Linked DNA regions of Homo sapiens: region 1 is linked to region 2. The links are contacts of gene promoters, found by promoter capture Hi-C in blood cells and fetal thymus (Javierre and others, 2016). All regions are on one chromosome and are shown on one strand. The core of a region is centred on a gene start or on the middle of the fragment in contact, and the rest is flanking DNA. Distances in the headings are between cores, read along the strand shown.

Region 1 (5,386 bases), core at 510-3,009, 240 kb before region 2:
TGCAGGGGCAGCTGCCTGCCTTGCTCCTCCCAGGTGCTCTGTGAGGCCCCATGCCCAGCTGGCGTGCTTTTCTGGGCAGCCTTCCCAGGGCTCGGTGAGCGTGGCCACAGCCGCCCTCACGTCTTGCTTCTCTCCTGTCTTCAAGCCAGTCCAAGCCTCCTCCCTCCTCAGTTTCTCCAGCGAGGGAGGGGGTGGTTCCTCAGGGATTTCGCTCAGTGCTTTGGGCTGGCTGAGACTCCTCAAGAAACCCTGGCTGGCTCTTGGAGCCTCTGTTTCCTCCTCGGTAGAATGGAAATGGGGAGACTTGCCCATACCCTGTGGAGATGTTTGGAGACGCAGATAATGTAAGTAAAAAGTGGAGAGCACACAGTAGGTGCTCAGGAAAATGTGCTCATAGGAGAGTTATGGGTGATGTCAGTCTTGTCCTGCTGTTTGGGCTGGGGCAATAGAGAGGCGCCAGCCGATGCCCGCACCATGTGGAAGCCCAGGTCAAACAGCAGCAGGTCTCGGGGAGAAGGGAACCCCAAGGGGCTCAGGTGCCTCAAATCCCCAACCTCCAGTTTGGCAGGGGCAGTGGGCCGTGGCCTTTTGGGCAGGGGTCCTGTGCCCTGGATCTTGCCCAGCTCCAAAGCTAGTAAGCCCCAGGGAGGCCACCCCCGCCAAGTGAAGTGGGCATGAAGACAGATGATGGCGAAGGGACTTCCATATGCACGAGATCAACTGTTTATTGATTTTTTTCCTCAAATACTACACATGTAAAGGAACTGTTAAACTGAAAAAGACTTGACAATTTTTGGTAAATCCGTAGCACAGAAATGAGGATTTCTGCTGGTAAGTTCTCAGGACAGACACAGACACAGGTCCACTTTCCAAGCAAGACATCTGCTCACTGGAAACGGAGTGAATGCATAGCTGGTGACGGCGGCGGGCACTGCTGAGTCACGTGAAACACAGGTTCCCCCACGTTCCCCCCACCCCCGCCGGCCCGCGTGGCCCCCGCGTAACTCTGGCTGCAGCACCTGCTCCCGGGCGACTCCGGGCAGCCCGAGACACTCGTGCTGCGGGTAAGACCCAGCTTCTGTTTGTGCACAAGTAACACGACGACTGAAATCTGCAACTACTGCAAAGACGCGGGCACTTTTACAGTGTTCTGCTACGGAGCCAGGACAAAGGCCGGTCAGAAGCCGGACCAGCAGTCAGCTGGTGACGACGAGCCTCCCTCCAGCAGGCACCACGTCAGAGAGGCCCCAGGCCCACTGAGCCCGGGAGGAGACCCAGCCGGCCAGCCAGACGTGTGCCTGAATGCCACAGACTTCAAGCAGTTTACAAACGAAACTCACTGTTAAAAGCTGTTAAATCTCATTAAAACAGTAGACGAGTGCTTTAGATTCTCTGAATATCAAATAATATATACAGATAGACACTGAGACATGACAGTCTAATCTAAAGCATCTTTACAGATGCATTTGCTTGAAAAGTTAGTCTTCTTTTTAACTCTGAATCAGTGATAAAATTGTTAATTTGCAAAAGAGTACAGTTTTAAGCAAGAATAGAGTGAAAATAATTTTTAAATATGGCGATTTGGGGGAGTTCTACCTAAGGTTCTATGTAAAGCTTCCATTCAGATGCCCAAAAGCACAAAGAGCATTCCCAATAGAAACCCGACCATAACCCGGTCCCACCTTCCTGGCATAATTCCTTTCCTCAAACATCTGCCACCTGAGGCTAAGCCTACACACGGCGTGGCTGAGTAACAGGGTAAGGGAATAGGGAGATCGTTTCCTCAAGACTGGTGCGCATCAATCTGTGCCATAATTTAAGTAGAAATGAACAGGTGTATAAAAAAGTATAACTGTACACAGCCTTTAAATTAAAAACCTCAAAATCTTCACTCAAAATGGGATGTAAGCTTGTTCATTTAAGTTGCAGGTGATGGACTCGTCAGAGAGAGTAATCAGTGGAACAAGATCAGTGTAACCCACCATTGACTCGGAAAGGAGAGACAAAGTCAAGAACATAGAGATCTATGATAGGCCAACAGGCACAGTGGGCGGGGAGGGGCGGCTATTTCTGTTGTTCTGCGTCTTCCTGCGCTCAGATCCCTCCAGCTGCACTCGGAAAGGTGCCGAGTCCCAGGCGAAATGACCAGCTCATCTGCCTTCCAGGAACACCATGAAGCCAAGAGCAATGGAACCATCATCTCTTGCAGGAAAAGGAGTGGATGCCCACGTGGCTGGCTGAGGCTCCTGGGCCCGCCGCCTCCGTCCCCCCGCTGGCCTGTCCCCGACTCATCACTGGATCGCCTCCACATAATTTGCCGGGTATAGGCCAACTTGCCCGTTGTCCAAGCGTCCCTTGCACCAGCCCTGCTCATCCTCGTCCTCCATCTTGGTCAGCTCATCCCCTGCAAGACAAAGAGGGAGCCGTCTCCATGAGAGGTATGACACCGACGGTGGGCTACAGAGCCGCATTCACGAGCTTTGAGCCCACAGAGGGTGGAGGGCCAGGCATTCTGTGGCGGGCAGGCCGAGGGCCTGGTCATTTCTCTACTAAATGCATGCATTTTAAGTTGCCTCTTTGGTCATGGGCCTCTGACAGACCTAGAGATGACAGTCTCACACAGTAATTTGGAACAAGCTGCTCTCAGCTGCCACAGTGGCTCCCACTGAGACTGCGGCATCCAGCTCCATAGGGCTGTGCCTTCCTCACCACCCTGGCCAGGTGGCAGGAATCGTCCCTCGGTTGTGCCCCTCCCTCACGTTGGGCCTCTTCTGTCCCCTCCCCAGGGCCCCGGCCGCCTTGCTCCCAGCAGCTGTCTCTGGGGTCTCTCTGCCTTTGCTAATCCCTCTCCTCTGCAACTTCCAGGCTGCGAGGGGAAGGGACCATGTCTGACAGTCATACCTGTCATTTTATCCCCAGCACCTGGCTGATGACTTGTGCACGGTGCCATGTGTCAACCCTTCCTGAGACCCTGAGAAGGAGCCCCTGGCGCTGTTCTGGAATCTCCCTGTGGCTCTAATGTATTAACGTGGTTCCATTTATCTTTGGTTGTTCCAACCTGAAGGACCTCCTACTTCTGGCCAGGCCTTGGGTAGAAGAGGAGATACAGAGATGAGAGGAACTGATGGATCCTGGTCTCAAGGAGGCAGACTAGGGTGGTGAGGGGGAGGTGGCACTAGGGTAGGGCCCCAGGTCTGGCATTTGCCAGGTTAGGGAAGCAGAGCAGCTCAGAGCCCAGGGGTGGGCAGGGGCCTGTGTGCTTCTGGTTGGTAACTCACTGCAGGGAAGGCCAGTTGGGCCTGCTGGCTCGGACCTCGTCAGGAGCAAGCAATTGGTGGGAAAGAAATAGTCCCAGTGCTGTTTTGCCTTTATTGCTAAGTTTGAAGTTTTGTAACTCTCTTTGGCATTTTTTGGTCCATTTTTCAGAATTAGATGCAGTTTTCCCCCTGGTTTAGCATTTCCCTGATGCTTTGGATTTTGTATGGCAGCAATGCTGGTCAACATGCCTGCGGAGCTAATACCTGGGGCTTCCAGTGCTCCCCGGACTGCCTGGGCTCAAATCCCACAGCCATCACTCACTGGCTGGGAGACCTGGACCAACTGCGTCCACTCCCTGGGCCTGTGGCCCTCATCTGTGGACTGGGGGTACTGTGAAGATTAAGTGTTAAGACACTAAAGAACCCTGGGAGGGTGGGACATGCGTAAGCACTGGCTCAGCCTCCCACTGTCGTGCCGCTTCTGCCAGACCAGTGCGCCTGCAGATCTAACCCAGAGGCATCAGGAGCAGATGCAGGGGCCACAGGGCAGCAGCCACGATGAACCACCATCTCTTTCCACCGCTTCGTGCCTCGGGCCCCTGGCGTTTCTTTTGTCCTGCCTTCATTGGTTGCTGTGCTCTCACAGGCCTGGATCCAGGCTACCGAGGCTAGGATGAGGCCTGTAACCCCACACTACCATGTGGCAAACAGCCAGAACACCGCAAGAGACGTAAGTCAAGCCACACTGGCTGGGAGCTAATTTTGCATTGTTAAAAAGCAGGATAACACAGAAAATAGAACGGACAGGAAAGCTTTCACATTGTGCAAATGTGAACTGGTGATTAGAAGGTTCATTTCAATCAGTTTGCTTTTGACAATTTACTTGGATCTGGAAGAAACATTTTAAATCTACAAAATTACTGTCAAACCCAATAGGCAGGATTGAAAAGGAGTTAGAAATTATAAACAAATAAACCAACAAAGTCGGGGGTAACAACCCCAACCAAAGATATCAGAAACTGGATGAAGATGGCTTAAAGGCACATTAAAAAAAAATCCAAAAAAACAAAAAAACCCAACTTCTCAAACTGGGCAGAGGCAGCTGATAACCAGCCCAGGGGAAGAGTGTCTGGGGACAGCAGGCTGGCACTCTGGGTGCTGAGGGGAGGAGGCTGAAGACTGGTTAGAAGCTAGGCCATTGGGCACAGCCCCCAGGCCCTGGCTTCCCTGCTGAGTCAGGGGTTGGGGTGGTGGTGGTAAGGCAGCCTTTCCCACAAGTGTAGCCTAGGGGCAAGGGCACACTTCAGCCTGTGTGGGTTGAGTTCTGGCCCAGCTTCCCTCTTGGAGTGGTAGATGCTGCTTCTGGGGGAGCTTCACAAAGAGGGCAAGAGAGGGAAGAATCTGGGTTGCTGTGGGTCCACTTTGGCCCTAGGCCACTCCAGCTTCCTTAGGTGCTAAGATAGCAATTTTCTTTCCTTTTTTTTTTTTTGAGACAGAGTGTCACTCCATCACCCAGGCTGGAGTGCAGTGGTATGATCTCAGCTCACTGCAACCTCCACCTCCCAGGTTCAAGTGATTCTCTTGGCCTCCCCAGTAGCTGGGATTACAGGTGTGTGCCACCATGCCTGAATAATTTTTTTATTTTTTAATAGAGGCAGGGTTTCACCATGTTGGCCAGGCTGGTCTCAAACTCCTGACCTCAAGTGATCCTTCGGCCTTGGCCTCGCAAAGTGCTGGGATTACAGGTGTGAGCCATCGTGCCCGGACAAGATAACACTTTTCAAATTGAAGATGTGAAAAGCCATTTTGGTAAACTGCAAATGCATTAAAAAAGATTCCTATAGTGGGTGGGGTGGTAGCACACATCTGTGGTCCCAGCTACGTAGGAGGCTGAGGTGGGAGGACTGCTTGAGCCCAGGAGATCAAGGCTGCAGCTGCTGTGAGCTATGATCGCACCACTGTAACCCAGCTTGGCTAACAGAGTGAGACCGTGTCTCTATTAAAAAAAAAAAAAAAAAAGATTATCATTGAAGACCATTCAAAGAAGAAAAAGACATTGCACAGAAAGTCTTCACAGGCAGAGCACATGTAATCAGGATCCAGGCTGTTTTATAAAACTATGGTTTCTG
Region 2 (5,939 bases), core at 2,672-5,171:
CATGAAAACACAAGGCAGAAAACTAAACCACGGCTGGGAGCGGTGGCTCATACCTGTAATCCCAGCACTTTGGGAGGCCAAGGTGGGCGGATCCCTTGAGCCCAGGAGTTCCAGGCCAGCCTGGCCAACATGGTGAAACCCTGTCTCTACTAAAAATACAAAAATTAGCTGGGTGTGGTGATGCACGCCTATAATCCCAGCTACTCAGGAAGCTGAGGCACAAGAATCACTTGAGCCCAGGAGGCAGGGGTTGCAGTGAGCCAAGATCACGCCACTGCACTGCACTCCAACTTGGATGACAAAGTGAGACGCTGTCTCCAAACAAAAACAAAAACAAAAACAAAAAAACAAACTAATAGGACCAGGCGTGGTGGCTCACACCTGTAATCCCAGCACTTTGGGAGGCCGAGGTGGGCAGATTCCCTGAGGTCAGGAGTTCAAGACCAGTCTGGCCAACAGGGTGAAATCCCGTCTCCACTAAAAATACAGAAAAAAAAAAAAAAAAAAAAAACATTAGCCGGGCGTGGTGGTGCATGCCTGTAGTCCCAGCTACCCTGGAGGCTGAGACAGGAGAATCTCTTGAACACAGGAGGCGGAGGTTGCAGTGAGCTGAGATGGCATCACTGCACTGCAGCCTGGGTGACAGAGTGAGACTCCATCTCAAAAACAAAACAAAACAAAAACAAACAAACAAAAACTCAATACACCTGTATTAGTATTGAGTTTAATTGACATACCAAAACATGCACAGTTCCTAAGCATTCAGCTGTTTGCATACATATGCACCCCTGCAGCCACCATCTGTGTCACCCCAGAAAGTTCCATAATGCCCCTTCCCAGCCAATACCCATCTTCACCCTGGAGAGGGAGCCGCCAATGTCACCTCTAGCGCCATAGATTAGGTGTGCCTGGTAATGAACTTCATGATGCCCAGAGATGACTACTATTCCCATTTTGCTGTGCTATATTTCCTTCCAGACTTTCACACATGGATTTTTTTTTTTTTTTCTTGAGACAGAGTCTCGCTGTGTTGCCCAGGCTGGAGTGCAGTGGCACAATCTCGGCTCACTGCAAGCTCCGCCTCCCGGGTTCACGCCATTCTCCTGCCTCAGCCCCCTGAGCAGCTGGGACTACAGGCGTCCACCACCACACCCAGCTAAATTTTTTTGTATTTTTAGTAGAGATGGGGTTTCACTGTGTTAGTCAGGATGGTCTCGATCTCCTGACCTTGTGATCTGCCTGCCTCGGCCTCCCAAAGTGCTGGGATTACAGGCACCTGCCACCTTGCCCAGCCATACATGGATTTTTAAAGAATATAGGATTCTAATGGACACAGTGATTTATACAGCATGCCATTTCATTCAATAGATCATGCGATCATGCATCTCCAAGACAGTTTCCTTCGTGAGCTTTTTTTTTTTTTTAGACAGAAGAATCTTGCTGTGTTGCCCAGGCTGGAGTGCAGTGGCACGATCTTGGCTCACTGCAATCAAGGCCTCCCAGGTTCAAGCAATTCTCTGCCTCAGCCTCCCAAGTAGCTGGGACTACAGGTGAGTGCCATCACACCCGCTACTTTTTTTTTTTTTTTTTTGAGACAGAGTTTCACTCTTGTTGCCCAGGCTGGAGTATAATGGCGTGGTCTCAGCTCACTGCAACCTCTGCCTCCCTAATTCTCCTGCCTCAACCTTCTCGAGTAGCTGGGATTACAGGCATGTGCCACCCCGCCCAGCTAATTTTGTATTTTTAGTAGAGATGGGGTTTCTCCATGTTGGTCAGGCTGGTCTCAAACTCCTGACCTCAGATGAGCCGCCTGCCTTGTCCTCCCAAAGTGCTGAGATTACAGGCGCAAGCCACCGCGCCTGGCCTAGTTTTTTAATTTTTAGTAGAGATGGAGTTTCGTCATGTTGGCCAGGCTGGTCTCAAACACCTGACCTCAGGTGATCCACCTGCCTTGGCCTCCCAAAGTGCTGGGGTTATAGGCGTGAGCCACCATGCCCAGCCATCTCTTCCTCCTTTTGATCAGCATATTGTCTTGGGATTTTGCAAAGTAAATAAGTACTGTATTTGCACCCACTCTGCCCTTGAATCATCCAGTGTCCCCAAACGGTCCTTCTTTCTCCATCTTTTCTGCTAATGTTTACTGAACATCTCCTACATACCTGGCACTGTGCCTCCAGCCTTAAGACCCCTCTGCAAGCATCTCACATATATCAGGTCTTTCGGACCCATGAGACCCCGTGTCATTGCTTTACCTCCCTGAGTCTCAATTTTTTCATCTGCAAAATGCATTCAGAGGGAAGCCCCCATTATGAAGGGTTCCCTGCTCCTGACTGTAAGGCACTCTGTGGCTGTTAGCCACAGTCAGGGCGAGCTGCTTTGTAGGGGTTGATGTAGTTTGGAGGCCCTAGAAGAAAAGACTACAGGGCCGGGAGTGGTGGCTCACGCCTGTAATCCCAGCACTTTGGGAGCCCGAGGCCGGTGGATCACCTGGTGTCAGGAGTTCAAGACCAGCCTGGCCAATATGGCAAAACCCCGTCTCTACTAAAAATACAAAAACTAGCCGGGCATGGTGGCACACGCCTGTAATCCAGCTACTAGGGGGGCTGAGGCGGGAGGATTGCTTCAACCTGGGAGACAGACGTTGCAGTGAGCCAAGATTGTGCCACTGCACTCCAGCCTGGGCAACAGGGCTAGACTCTGTCTCAAAAAAACAAAAACAAAAACAAACAAAAAAACCCCACAAAAGCAAAGAAGGTCCAGAGCCCGGAAGGCGGGAGGGGCTCTGAAGACTTTATCACACTTTACCTCCTCTGTTCCTCCCAACAGCCCAGCTCTTGGTAGGTGCTGTTGTCCATTTCACAGATGAGAACATTGAAGGGGAAGTAATTACCCTAGAGGTGGGAAGAACAGAGTGAGGGTACCCAACAGGTAGCAAACGACAGAGCTGGGGGAGGGGAACCCCTGTCCCTGCCCCTCCCCTAATCTCTGAGGGGATCAAGACAGAAGTAAACAAGCTTTGCCGTGCCCAGGACAATTGTTACTTTGTTATTCCAGGAGCGCTCTGCCTTCTCCCACCCCCAATATACCCCAGGGCTGGAGTTAGGTCCTACCCATCCCCGCGTAGCAGGCTGCCCACCCGCCCACCCCGCCTGGAAGCTTTCTGATTTCTCTGTTCGCCCCGCCAGGCGCTGTGGGGTCCGTCTCACCAGGTCTGCACGTGAGCCCCCTGCCCCCAATCCCTCCCAGTCCCGCCCGCCTCTCGCGGACCCGGAGCCCCGACGGGAGGGGGAAGGCAGTGGGTGTGTCATGCAGCTGGAAGGCTGCGGACGGGCGGCAGTGGAGGGGCAGCCCCCTGGCTTCGGGTATGGATCACTGGATGCTGCTGCTAACCAAATGTGAACCTCGGTTTTCATATTTGTGAAATAGGCTTTAAAACACCTAAATCCCAAAGCTGCCAGCCTAAGGAGCACACGTCTTTGAACGCTGGCTTCACGCTGTCATTTAAGTCATTTCGTCCTCTTGGAGCCTCGGTTTCCACGTGGGTAAAATGATCGTGAAAAAAAGCACCGAGGAGTACTTTGAGCTCGAACGGAGGCCATCCGTGTAAAGGGCCAGATTCTGTCAATGGATCGATCCCCCCGATATTGATGGAAACCCCTGAGTGCACGCCCGTGCTGGGCGCAGGGGAAACAGCGACGCACGGGACAAAACAAGCTTGCAGAACAGCAGGGGGCAGAGAGGCTGTAAACAAGCCAACGGGCTGCACTTGTAGCGGTTCTGTTGCCAATGCCATTCAGACCCCAGTCCGGGATTCCGCGCTCGGGGTGCGAGAGGCCGCTCCCGGGGAGGGGCGGGACCCGGGCGGGGCGGGAGGGGCGGGGCGCCCGGGCCTATTAGGTCCCGCGCCGGCAGCCGGGCCGCAGACACGAAGCCTCCCGGGTGGCTTACAGACGCTGCCAGCATCGCCGCCGCCAGGTGAGTGCCCCCGACCCTGCTGCCGCCCGCTGCTCCGCCCAGCTCGAGCCCGGCGGTTAGCGCCCAGGCCGCGGCCCGGGTGCCGAGCGGCTGGAAGTGTGGGGAGCCGTGCCCAGGTTTTACCGCTCCAGCAAGTCGCTGGCGGGGCGACGTCTCGGGACTCCGGCTCCGAAACGTACCCTCTCTGTCCGGGGCTCCAGGTCCCCGACGGGCGATCGTGCCAGGCGCGGCCCCTGCGGGCCTCAGTCTCCGCGCCTGTGCAATGGGGTGGTCCCTCTGCGTCTCGCCGCGACGGCTGGACGCCCCATCGCCGCCGCACAGTCCTCCAGTGCGGCTTCCGGGCACCCGGCTCCGAACTCTGGGGTCGTGCGGACCCGGCCAGACCGTAGCGCGGCAACGCCAGCCCACGGCCGCGGCCGCACAGCCCCGGTGCCCTTAAAAGAGGGAAGATGGCGTCGTGCCCGGTGCCGCCGGGACCGGCTCCCGGAGGCGCTGCGCACCTGAGGAAGGGCCGAGGAAAGGCTTCGTAACGGGACGCCCAGAAAGTCCGGAACAGGAACGTGCACACGGAGCGGCGCGCAGCCGCCCGCCCTCGCTTGCCCACGCGCCCTGCACAGGTGCGCCCCAGACTGGGCGGGGACTAGAGCCCGGCTGGGGCATGCGACCTTGTTTGGTAAATTGGAGGTGCGCCCCTGCGGGTGACCCGCGAGGGGGCCCCCCGCCTGCGGGGCGCGGTCACGACAAGGCTTGTGGGGTTCGGAGCTGGTCGTCGTCTGGGCTCTGGCCTCCTAAATGCGATCGCTTTCAAGCCCTTCATTGTCAATTTTGCTAGAATGAGCCACTCGTGGGGTAGGACGTGGTTGTTGATGTTACTGTTGTAGCTCTTACTATTGTAACATTTTTGTTGCTGTTTTAACGCAGTGTTTACTGTGGTCTGGGAGCCCGAGCTTCCCAGGGAGCATTGGTGTCAGCCTCATGTCCCCGCATTAGGAGGAGCGCAGTCTGGTGGGCACTAGCGCCGGGAAGTTCTTAACATCTGTCTGCCCCTGGGAGCAGGAGGCCTCATCTTCCAGGTGGAGAAACAGAGATTTCAGTCCCAGGAGGCACAGAAATGCCAGGGTTGTCTAGCTAGAAGCCAAGGGCCCTTTATGGAACCCAAGCCAAAACCTCTTTCCACTCTCCAGCCCTGTGGCCTCGGAAGGGCCACTCCATCTCTCTGAACCTCAGTTTGTTCTGTTCACTCTGCAAAATGTATCCCTGAGGTTTCTGGCCAGGTGAAAGCCCCTCTCAAGTTAGTAGCCTCCCTGGAGTTAAGACTCACCCCGATTTCTACTTAATTTGGGCACGCCTTTGGAATAAGTTCTCAGGAATGGCACAGTTTGGGTGTTTTTTGTTTCTTTTTGTTTTTTTTTGAAACAGAGCTTCGCTCTTGTTGCCCAGGCTGGAGTGCAATGGCGCCGTCTCGGCTAACTGCAACCTCGGCCTCCTGGGTTCAAACGGTTCTCCTGCCTCAGCCTCCTAGTAGCTGGGATTACAGGCGCCTACCACGAGGCCCAGCTAATTTTTTGTATTTTTAGTAGAGATGGGGTTTCACCATGTTGGCCAAGCTAGTCTCGAACTCCTGACCTCAGGCGATCCACCCGCCTCAGCCTCCCAAAGTGCTGGGATTACAGGTGTGACCCACCCCGCCCGGCTTGAGTGTTTAAATACTCCTGCCTCAGCCTCCCAAGGTGCTGGGATTACAGACGTGAGCCCCTATGCCTGGCCCTTTTTTTTTTTTTAATTGTCTTAAGGATGTTAAGACTAAGATTCTCACACATTTGACTCGTGCCTGTAATCCTAGCACTTTGGGAGGCTGAGGCAGGAGGATTGCTTGAGCTCAGGAGACTAGACTGGGCTAGACCAGACTGGGTAACATGGTAAAACCCTGTCTCTACCAAAAATACAAAAAATTAACCGGGCAT

Evidence for each region. Contacts are between HindIII fragments. The CHiCAGO score rates a contact against its expected background, and 5 or more counts as called.
Region 1: a fragment that was not itself captured here is called in contact with the fragment with the promoter of BIK in region 2 in 2 of 17 cell types (neutrophils and naive B cells); the score reaches 5.8 in neutrophils.

The regions. Positions count from the first base shown.
Region 1 is chr22:42,869,066-42,874,451 of GRCh38, forward strand. PACSIN2 (protein kinase C and casein kinase substrate in neurons 2) reads right to left here. Exons shown (of 11, transcript NM_001184970.3): 11 at 708-2,404. The coding sequence ends at 2,292. LOC101927393 (a long non-coding RNA gene) reads left to right here and starts at 2,349. Exons shown (of 3, transcript XR_001755575.2): 1 at 2,349-2,438; 2 at 2,920-3,020; 3 at 3,427-5,386. The HindIII fragment of the contact is 295 bases long and covers 1,613-1,907 here.
Region 2 is chr22:43,106,829-43,112,767 of GRCh38, forward strand. BIK (BCL2 interacting killer) reads left to right here and starts at 3,922. Exons shown (of 5, transcript NM_001197.5): 1 at 3,922-3,975. RefSeq lists silencers at 3,872-4,041, 4,572-4,791 and an enhancer at 3,989-4,547. The HindIII fragment of the contact is 21,199 bases long and covers 3,713-5,939 here.